Regions from separate parts of the Homo sapiens genome. Here region 1 is linked to region 2. The links are contacts of gene promoters, found by promoter capture Hi-C in blood cells and fetal thymus (Javierre and others, 2016). All regions are on one chromosome and are shown on one strand. The core of a region is centred on a gene start or on the middle of the fragment in contact, and the rest is flanking DNA. Distances in the headings are between cores, read along the strand shown.

Region 1 (5,786 bases), core at 1,682-4,181, 270 kb after region 2:
AGTCTTTTACAGATGGGGAAACTGAGAATTAGATGGGCTAAGTAACTTGCCCAGGACCAAAAAGATGGCAGAGCTAGGATCTGAACCCAGATGTGGTTGATCACAGAGTCTAAACTCTGAACAACTATACTTCTTAGAATATCATAGATCTACTCCATGTGACAAAATATCCACACAAGTTGATGGGGGAAGGAATAAATTGCATAACAAATGGGCCTGACTCCATATTATATCACAAAATTATTTCTAGCTATTAATAAGTATAAAAAGTGAAAGGAAACCATTAAAAATAGAATATAAATTGTATCTTAATTTATAAAAGAAAATAATTTTTTAAAAATAGAAAATATAGGTAACTATTTAACTGATTTGGGGGCGTAAGGGAATTATCAATAAATTTACTGATTTGGGGGCTTAAGGAAATTATCAAAAATTTACATCGTATAGATTATAGGTAAAATTATCACCAGCAAAATTAAAAGACAAACTACAAAGAAGGAAAAAGATTTGCTACTAATATGACCGAAAAAGTACTAGTATCCCTAATACATAAAAATCTTTTATTCAACAGTAGGAAAAATGGTGACATCTCAATAACAAAATGGCAAAGGACATGAATACAGAATTTACGGAAGAGGAAACATAAAGGACTAATAAATTACTAAAAAATACAAATTAAAATAACAAAGGGCTGTCATCTTTTGCCGTTATTATTAAGGGTGATAAGAATGATGATATGAGTATCTGCCGGATGTGGAAAATGGTGACATTCATAGACTTTAGTACAAAGGATTGGTAGAGCCTTTCTGGAGAGCAATTTGGCAATATGTATCAACATTCATAGAGTGCCTTCACCACTTGATGTAGTAATTCCCTTTCCAGAAGTCTATCTAAAGGAAAGAATTAGCAGGGTGGCAAAGATATCTCTATAATAAAAAGATTATAAATAAAAGTTTAATAAAAGGGAATATACTTCCACTATTAAAAATCATATTTCTGAGGCCGGGTGCAGTGGCTCACCCCTGAATCCTGGCATTTTGGGAGGCTGAGGCAGGAGACTTGCTTGAGCCCAGGAGTTTGAGACCAGCCTGAGCAACGTAGTGAGACCTCTGTCTCTATAAAAAAATAAGTTAAAGACATCATATTTCTATACAAAGATGATCATTATAGCATTATTAATAATCCCTTAATTTTGAGAGGAAATTGCTGAATTCAATTATAGGAGAATTATTGAATAGAATATAGTACATTCAAATGAAAGAATATTATAACTTGGTCCTGCTTTCAAGGAAGTTTTAACACCATTGGGAAATTCTAATATGTTAAGGGAAAGAGAAGATAGGCCAGGTGCAGTGGCTCACGCCTTTAATCTCAGCACTTTGGGAGGCCAAGGCGAGTAGATCGCTTGAGCTCAGGAGTTCAAGACTAGCCTGGCTAACATGGTGAAACACTGCCTCTACTAAAAAATACAAAAAATTAGCTGAGCGCGGTGGGCCTGTAGTCCCAGCTACTCCAGAGGCTGAGATGGGAGAACTGCTTGAGCCTAGGAGGCGGAGGTTGGAGGGAGCCATGATCGCACCACTGTACTCCAGCCTGGGCAACAAAGCAAGATTTTGTCTCGAGGAAAAAAAAAAAAAGGAAAAGGAAAAACAGAAGATAGGAATTATTTAATATGTATCTTGTCTTTACCTTTGGGTCATGAGAATATTATTTTGTCATGCTTGCATATTTTGGGTTATATTTTTTACTTGGTTGTAACTAATATTTTATCTATAATGAGCAATTTATTCAATTCACCTGTGTATAATCATCCTGTTTACTTACTCATTTATTTGCTTATTTACCAATTTATCCACTTAATAATTTGTTTATAGAGACTGGGCTTGAATTCAGGTTCTGGCAGATAATATTTGGGCAAATTACCAATCTTCCCTAGTCTCTGTTTTCTTGTCTATAAATGAGAAGAAATACATCTACTCTGCATGAGTAAATGAGGTAATGTATATAAATACTCAGCATGATAACTCACTCCTAAAAGCTGCTCAAGAAATAGCAATTGATATTATTTCATTATTGTTATTTTTTAAGTAGATGCAAAGAAATAGTGGGGAACCAAAAATGTGTGGGCAAAGACCTTCACATTCTCCCAGTCAAGGGAGTTATTGAAATTATAATTTTAAAACAAGAACTGTAAAATATATTACATTTTTGGAACTTAAAGGGAATGTAAATGTCAATGTAAATCAAGGGTCAAACATTGAAAAAATATAACCTTAGAAATAATGCAGTGCACTGAGTAACCCCAGGACATTCTCCAGTGTTGCTTCACAACTATGCCATTGCCACCTAGTGGAATTAGTAATGCATTATATAGCCCAGAAAATTTGAGATTTTATTTTGAAGTATTAAATGGTTTATATAGAAAGGCCAAATTACACAAATATTCTCCTATATGTCCCCATCATCTCCTTTGGACTACTGAAATACTCATCTAACTAGTCTTTCATCTTACATCAGAGCCCCAACCCATTCTCCTACACAGAACAGGCAGAGTAAGCTTTCTAAGATATAAATCAGATCATGTTACTTACACAGATTGAAAATGCAAAACACCTTGCATGGCGTGGAAGCTCTCCAGCTTCATCTGTCCCAGCCTTGCTGATTACGAGTCCCAGTGACCATCTTTCCAGTAAGAATTTTCTGCCTCAAGGCTCCCAAATATACAGGGTTTTTTGTTTGTTTGTTTGTTTTTTGACAGAGTCTTGCTCTGCCGCCCAGGCTGGAGTGCAGTGGCATGATCTCGGCTCACTGCAACCTCTGCCACCCAGGTTCAAGCGATTCTCTTGCCTCAGCCTCCCAAGTAGCTGGGATTACAGGCACCCGCCATCACGCCCGGCTAATTTTTGTATTTTTAGTAGAGACGGGGTTTCACCATGTTGGCCAGGTTGGTTTCGAACTCCTGACCTCAGGTGATCTGCCCGCCTCGACCTCCCAAAGTGCTGAGATTACAGGCGTGAGCCACTACACCTGGCCCCAAATATACAGTTCTCTCTGCCTAGAATGTTCTTCCTCAGCTTTTTACATGCCAAATTCGTCATCCTTCAAGACCAAACTTATTTCCCTCAAACAGATCTTTCCGCAACTACATTATGTACCTCTATTATTTTCTCTCATAGTATTTTGTTCTTTTCCTTTACGACATTTCATCACAAATTATGCTCAGGTATTTTTTCCTGTTTGGTTAATACCTGTTTCCCCCTTCAAACTGTATGCACCATGTTTAACAATGTATATGTCAAAGCTTAGTACTGTGTAGTACAATAGTATGTGTGCATTAAGGAATCTATATAATGGAATGCCATTTAGTCACCAAAAATAGTGTGTTCGATGGGTATTACTGACATAGAATGTTGTACATGATATAACTTTAAGTGAAAAAAGTAGGTTTTATGGTAATACAATCATTTTTGTTTTTAAAATATGAATATATACTACATACATATTTACCATATATTCCAAATATATGTGTTTAAAAATCTGTGAGGTGTTACCATGGTTATTTAAGTTAACAAAATGTGAGTGTAGTTAGTTTTCTTTCTTTCTTTCTTTTCTTTTTTTTTTTTTTGAGATGGAGTCTTACTCTGTTGCCCAGGCTGGAGTGTGCAATGGTCTGACCTCGGCTCACTGCAACCTCCACCTCTTGGGTTCAAGCAATTCTCCTGCCTCAGCCTCCCAAGTATCTGAGACTACAGGTGTGCACCATCACGCCTGGCTAATTTTTGTACTTTTGGTAGAGATGGGGTTTCACCTTGTTGGCCAGGCTGGTCTTGAACTCCCGACCTCAAGTGATCCGCCTGCCTTGGCCTCCCAAAGTGCTGGGATTACAGGCGTGAGACACTGTACCCAACCAATTTTCTTATTTTTGCTTATCTTTTAAAATACTAATTATTTATCACCATTGTTGATATAATAGTTGAAGTTGAGATCTAATGGGATCATATCCTATATGGGACTGAGAAAGTTAGTTAGTATGACTAGTTAGCAGTAAACATTGCATTCAGGATGACTACTAACATTAGTGAGGTCTGAGGCAAGAGGACAAATGGAAGACTCTGCTCCCATTCTCTTCCCACTCCTCGCCCCAGCCCACACTAGGAGGGGCTGCTCACGCTTACCTGTGGACACCTGAGCCCACAAGGGCAAGCTCCAGCCACATCTCCTGCTACAATCACAGCCAGTATCCATCCTTAGGAAGAAGTATCTGGAGAAGAAACTCATACAGGCCTTGTCTTGGGAGGGAGTTCTAGGGTACTAGGATTCTGGAGAGTGGTATTAGGCTTAGGGTGGGCCTGTCCCCTTAATCCCATGGTGGACTCCTTGCCCCATGGAAGAGGACCAGAGAGAGGAGGGCAAGAGCAGGGAGCCTGGTGTTCAGGATCTAAAGATTGTACTGATTGCATCTAATCAAAATTAACTCTGAAAAATCTCTTAAATCATCCATAAAGTACAATACTGTACATATGTGTTTTATGTATGCAGCCCTATATTATTATTTTTAATTTTTCCTTGTCCATATTTCCCTATGGCTCTCAATTAATTTAATTTCATCTTCCATGATGTTGGAATCAACACCCACTTACCTGGTTACTTGAACAATGTTTCCTTCTATATCCATGGTGAGTAAACCCTTAAAAGCATTCAGATTTTCTTGATAGATTGGCTTTTAGGCTTGATGACATCTATTGCTCTCATAAGTTAATACATCTATAAGATGACTCCTTGTATATTTTGGAAAATGGCAAGACTCAAAATGACAAGTTGAAAGAAAGGGAAATTTAATGATTCTAGGTTACCAGCTTGAACAACTGGTTTAACAGTGTTACTATTTACTGAGATATGAAAGGTTAGAGGAAGAAGCGGTTTAGATGTATTATAATTCATTCACCTGATTCTCTATTGTTGGGTATTCAGGTTGGCTGCAATATTTTATAACAAGGAACAATAGTCTGATTTGCAGCAAAATCTTTTCACATGTCCTTAATTTCTAAACACAGAATTGCTGGATAAAAATGTGCACATTCTTGAGATTTTATTTTATTTTATTTTATGAGACCGAGCCTCGCTCTGTTGCCCAGGCTGGAGTGCAATGGGGCAATCTCGGCTCACTGCAACCTTCATCTCCTGGGTTTAAGTGATTCTCCCTGCCTCAGCCTCCTGGACCAGCTGGGATTACAGACATGTGCCACCATACCCGCCTAATTTTTGTATTTTTAGTAGAGACAGGGTTTCACCATGTTGGTCAGGCTGATCTCGAACTCCTGACCTCAGGTGATCCGCCCACCCGACCTCAGGTGATCCGCCCACCCTGGCCTCCCAAAGTGTTGAGATTACAGGCGTGAGCCACCACGCCTGGCCCATTCTTGAGATTTTTAATACACGTTTCCAAATGACTTTCAAAAGAGCTGTTTCCTCACACTGTTAACATAAGAGTAGATTTCAAACACTCAAATTCTGTCTCCCTCCCTCTTTCCTTCCGTCCCAGTTTTCCTTTGTTCATTCAATAAGTACCTACTATGTCCCACACAGGGCCTGACATAAATCTAACTTTGCTCCTTGCTAGGGGTTAGGAGATGATCGGGGAGAAGGAAGTGTAATGGAGAACTCTAGAGTTTTTAACATGAGTGACTTGGATATTCTACCCACAAACTTGTTTGATTCTGGACACCAGACAAGATAAGCTAAAATTCCCTCTTTATTTAAATTGGTGGTGCCACTGAGAGTTTGTA
Region 2 (5,776 bases), core at 1,577-4,076:
ATCATTTTTACCTCCTTACAAGTACTGGTACTGTATGATACTATATAAGTATTCAATAATCACGTGGTTCTCAAATTATGGAATCTCAGGAGCCCTCTACATCCCTAAAAATTAGTAAACAGATTAATGCTTGCCAAGGATAGGGGACAGCTTACACAAAAGTGCAGGAAGGAATTTAGGGTGGGTGAGGAAACCGTTCAGTATCTTGATTGTGATGGTAGTTGAATGACTGTATGTGTCTGTCCAAAAACACAGAACTTTTTATTAAAAATGGTGAACAGATTCTATGTGAATTACATCTTTTAAAAAATCGGACTTAAATTTCTTGACAACCCCAAAAGGTTTTGTTTATGTTGGCTACAAGTATCAATACTTAGCATCTTAGAAATTATAACTGAGAAAATTTTAAATAGTTGTGGCGGCTAAAGCAACTCCAACATCCGCCATGTTGACTTATGATTAACCCCAGTTCTGGGATTGCCTCTAAGATTTATATTTTATCTACTGTTCCTTGTGTAAAAGTATACACTTACCGATCTTGCCCTTAGGTCAAACAACCTTGACGCTATTTCACTTACCATAAATCCTGCTCTTAAGCAACTGTCCTACACATCTCTGGTTGGGGGTTGGGGGTCGGGTAATGGGGTGATCCACCATCTCCTTGGGGCCACCCAAGACATGGCTTCTGTTCTTAAGTCCCTTTTAAAGGTTTCTTTCTAAGAAACTGGATTCCTCAGCCTCTCAGCTTCCTCAGCCTTTGGGGATAGGACTGCATAGACCTGTCCACTATGCAACAATTGTTCTTCATGTTTTCATTTTTTAAAAAGTAAATGTATTAAATGTTAACATAAATAATGTATTCTTCAAGCCTGGCCAACATGGCGAAACCCCGTCTCCACTACTAAAAATACAAAAATTAGCCGAACTTGGTGGCAGGCGCCTCCCAGCTACTCCGGAGGCTGAGGCAGGAGAATCGCTTAAACCCAGGAGGCACAGGTTGCAGCACTGAGCCGAGATCGCGCCACTGCACTTCAGCCTGGGCGACAGAGAGACTCCGTCTCAAAAATAATAATAATAATAATGATAATGTATTCTTTATGAAAAATAACTTTTCCAAAACAAAAAACATTTAGTGAGAAGAATCACACTGTGTACATTCTAACAAATGTCTGGCTTCAAATAGAAAACTGTTAGATTCTCATATCTACTTCCTTCTGTTACAGTATCACAACTCAGGTAGCCTCTGGAAAACTCCACTGTACACTTCTGAAAAAATGAGAGTGAAAAAGATAACATCTGCATATTATTACGAAAGTAATTTTAAACTGGCAGTGTCAGAGAATCCCATGGGTCCCTGGACCACAATGTGAACATCTGATTCAGCCTATACAAAAAAAAATTTTTTTAATCAAATTCTGAACATGTAGTAGCAACAAAACTTACTTTTTTCAAATCAAAGAAATAATATCTTATGCAGATAATGTGTTCTACTTTAATGCAGTAATACCATCCTCATCCAGGTCAAAATTTGTACCAACGATTTAAACTGAGCTACAAACTTCAACATAAATGAAAAATATTTCTGAGGTCTAAGGATTTTTTAAAACCAGTAAGTAGTCCATAAGAAAGATACAGCATCATCCTCCAGACCTCACTCATCAACTATCCGTAGGGCAAGGCAGATGAAAGACAGCAAGAACACAAAGAAAGTAGGCAAAGAAATGTCTGACCTCAAAGAAAGAAGAGGTCCATACAACTAAAAGCACAGTAGAATAACTACAAAAGTAAAGCAGTATTAGAGCAAACGCACCCTGGTGTAAAATCCAATAAAATACAACTACTGTCCCTTGATCGCATTGCTAAAAGAACTCAAAATGCTGTTTCAAGACTATATCCCCATTCTGCAGATAGTGAAACTACGCCAGGTAACTCTTGCTTGTACAGTGTCCGTCGTGACTGTGAAAAGGGGAACGCACTCGCTTCTCACATGCTAGGCAGGGTGTTAGGACACTGCGTGAAGGGGAATCCTGGTCTGGCTACAGGAGGCTTTTTGTTTCAGTGCTTGTACAACTTTCATAACTGGAGAGTAGTCCGCAACCATCTATTACTCCAAGAGACTGAGTCAGAAACCTGCTGTCTCCTCACATGACTTTCAAACACTGCGAGCGAGTGGCGACACTGCGAGCGAGTGGCGACACTGCGAGCGAGTGGCGGTACCGCGAGGAGGCCGCCCAAGCCCTGGGCTGGCGCGGATATCTGTGGTTCCGAAACGCTGCGGCAGCTTCTGTCAGTCCTGGGACTTCTGCGGGCGGTTGGCAAGGTCGGCCCTGCTCGCCCAGGCTACGGCCTCGCGGACCCCAGGTCACGCCTCCTTTGAGGAGTACTAGAGCCTCCGTCCTCCCCCACGCTGTTTCCCCATCTGCACTCAGTAAGTCAGACCAACCGGCCCTTGGCGCCCCTCCAACTCTACCATCGAACTGTCTGGGCTAGCGGCCACTCAGCCGCCCACCCGACCCACCCGACCCACCCGACTTAGACGGTCCTCGCCGTCAGGAGCACTCTGAGGGGTCCGGCCCGCGGCGCCCCGCACTCACCCGGCTGACGTTTCACCGCCATCACTGACACTAGATAGTGCGCGATGTCAAAAAAGGGAAACATGGACGTGCGGGAGAAGGCCAGAGCCAACTCGTCCCATGGAGAATCCATAACGACCACCGACCGCGGCAACCGAAGCAGCCGCGGCTACTGGTTCCCCGCGCTCGCGCGGTGAGGAGTAGGAGAGGGCACAGCCGCGGCCGCCCGCTCCTCCGCGCCGGCTCCAGCTCCGCGCGTGCGCCCTGGCGCCGAGGGGGCGGGGCCGCGCTTCGCGGGAGCCGCAGGCTCACCGGCGCTAGGCGGGTGGGCGGGGCGAGCGGGTTCCCCGCGGCTCCAGCCGGCTCTTGCCTCGGTTCTCCTAGTAAGGGTCCAGCGTCTTCTTGGTCCTGGGCGCAGTGCAGGACCTGGAGAGCGTGCAGATGAACAAAACACGGTCCTCAAGGGGAGACGCTCAGAGTTGGATTTATTTCTGTAAATTGATGTCATTCACCTAACATTTATCGAGCAACCACAGTGCAAGTCACACTGTGACTTACTGGAGATATAAAAATAAAACAATAATATCCTGACCTCAAGAACTATGCGTTCCCTGAAAGAGATTTTTTATAAAAAGAGAAAAAACGCACATAATGGTACAAAAGCAGGTACTGAGAAGTATAGCTGCCGTGCGAGAGCAGTTCGAAACGAAGATTACAATTCTGGGAAGTGAGTAAAGTGACATGTGAGCTGGACTTTAAAAGTTAAGTGAGAAACACAAGCTAGGTGGGAGATGGAGGGAGGTGTTTTGGGTTGACTACAAAGTGAGAAATGAGGTTGGGAAAAGTCCTCGAATGGCAGACAAAGCCAGGCAGTTTGGCTCCAGAGGTTAAATTCTTGATCAATCACTATGTTAAGCTCAGAGCCAGAATCTCTTCTCCTAATCTCTACGCTAACTGGGTTGTTTGGTGGAAGGTGAGGGAGTAGAGGTGCAACGAAGCAACAAGATTAAGAATAGATTGATGAGAAGCGACTGACAACGGAAAATCAGAGGGTATTCACTGGTCCAAGCAAAAGGTAGTGGAGGCTGTGGCAGCAGAAATTGAGACCAATTGTGGGAAACATGGGTAGAAGCAGAATATCGTCAGTGAGTGTCAGTCTGTACAGGCGGGAAAGGAAGCATTTGTCAAATAAAATGAGGAACGGGTGAGTAGGAGGATTGTGGTTGCATTCTGATAAATAGGAAACAAGAAGGAATAGGTTTGGGTAAGAAAAAAAACTAGCTTGGCACACTTATTTGATGTGTGAACAGATTATGCTGGCACCAGGAAATTGGAGAAACGTGATTAGCTGCTAGGTAGGTGACAGCTTCACGGGTGTATGCACTGCAAAAGGAGAATTTTTTTTATCTGAATATGTATTCATTAATTTTAATTCATTTAACAAAATGTTTTTTGCGTGCCTACTATGTAACCAGCATTTTGCTGGATGTCAGAAATACTGCCCTAAACACTAAGTGTTTAAAACGTAGGAAAATTGTAGTAAATCTCTACACTTCATTACTTATCAAGAAAGAATAGACTTGTTCAAATACTTTTCACGTGTGGTTTTCTAAGCAAGCACTTCCCGTAGAGAAAAGTCTTTAGACCTGTAGCACACTTTCTAGCAAAACTAAGGGGAAAAAAACCACCTGTGAATATTTATACTTTCCTGTTTAAGTCTGTTCTTTCCATACTTTTTACACATTCGCTTATTTTTGGAATTTTAGTTTTGCGAATTTAGGCTCAGAGTTTGGATATTACTTCTTTTTTTTCTTTTCTTGTTTTTTTTTTTTTTTTTTTTTTTTTTTTTTGATATGTAATCTTGCTCTGTTGCCAGACGAGTGCAGTGGCGCGATCTCGGCTCACTGCAACCCCCAACTCGCTGATTCAAGCGATTCTCCTGCCTCAGCCTCCCGAGTAGCTGGGATTAAAGGCACGTGCCACCACGTTTTTTTTGTATTTTTAGTACAGACGGGGTTTCACCATGTTGGCCAGGATGGTTTGGAACTCCTGACCTCATGATCCGCCCGCCTTGGCCTCCCAAAGTGCTGGGATTACAGGCGTGAGCCACTCACACCCAGCCTGGATATTATTTCTTTAAATATTTTACATTTTAACAGTCTTAAATTTTGCAAAATATATGGTTAGTCTTTGGACTTAAAAAAATATATGATGTAATCTTTAAGACACTACTGAATTGTGTGTCTATACCAGTATTATTCTGGGGTACCATTAAATCCATTATTAACATCAATAAGGCAAAATGAATAACATCAGAGGTTTTTTTAAGGAAGTAAATCAAGCACTTTACTTGCTTAAACAGAATAATTCCAATAGAAAGGAATTAATTATCTCAGACTCTAAAGATAATTTGAAAATTGTTGCATTTCAAAACAGTAAGAATAAGCTTGGTCCTATCTGCCTAGAGCCTAAAGAAATTTCCTTATAAAGGTCTAGGGGAAATTAAATCCTAATCTCACAAAAAAGGCAAGTTCCATCTACATTTTAAATGCGCTCACCGTATTTGCTTCTGGTCAGTGGTTGAGTTATTTAGTCTATTAAAATGAGCATTGTAGGAGGAAATGGAGGATGGAAAGACCCCTTTCCTTCTTACCTTTAAATTACCATGCTATTGAACTTTTTAAAGTACCTTAGAGTCCACAATTAGGAAGTTTTACATTAAATGGACCAATTGCATTTTAATTACCAATTACCTTTAAATTGGTGAGAAGGAAAGGCAAGATTTGGGAGAATTACATGTGAAGATTCAAAGTTTTCCTGACTTTTGGAAGCAGTATACAAAATTACATAATTATTGGTGATAAAATGAATCCAATTTACAAAGTATAGCTTATTCATTAGGAAGCCAAACTGGTCTAATTGTATTAATATCCAAAAATGAGTTCTGTGGGGTGTTTTTTCGTTTTGTTTTGTTTGTTTGTTTGTTTGTTTACTTGAGACTGAGTTTCGCTCTTGTTGCCCAGGCTGGAGTGCAGTGGCACAATCATGGCTCACTGCAACCTCTACCTCCCAGGTTCAAGCAATTCTCCTGCCTCAGCCTCCCGAGTAGCTGGGATTACAGGTGCCTGCCACCACACCCAGCTAATTTTTTGTATTTTTAGTAGAGACGGGTTTTTACCATGTTGGCCAGGCTAGCCAGGCTG

The links. Contacts are between HindIII fragments. The CHiCAGO score rates a contact against its expected background, and 5 or more counts as called.
Region 1: a contact is called between a fragment that was not itself captured here and the fragment with the promoter of TMEM38B in region 2, in 3 of 17 cell types (M2 macrophages, megakaryocytes and M1 macrophages). The highest score is 6.5, in M2 macrophages.

What each region holds. Positions count from the first base shown.
Region 1 is chr9:105,422,788-105,428,573 of GRCh38, reverse strand. It overlaps a transcript of SLC44A1 not described here. Among named protein-coding and RNA genes, the nearest start is that of FSD1L, 22 kb to the left of the region's middle. The HindIII fragment of the contact is 744 bases long and covers 2,560-3,303 here.
Region 2 is chr9:105,691,591-105,697,366 of GRCh38, reverse strand. TMEM38B (transmembrane protein 38B) reads right to left here and starts at 2,826. Exons shown (of 6, transcript NM_018112.3): 1 at 2,595-2,826. The coding sequence starts at 2,706. RefSeq lists a silencer at 2,723-2,992. The HindIII fragment of the contact is 6,405 bases long and covers 1-5,021 here.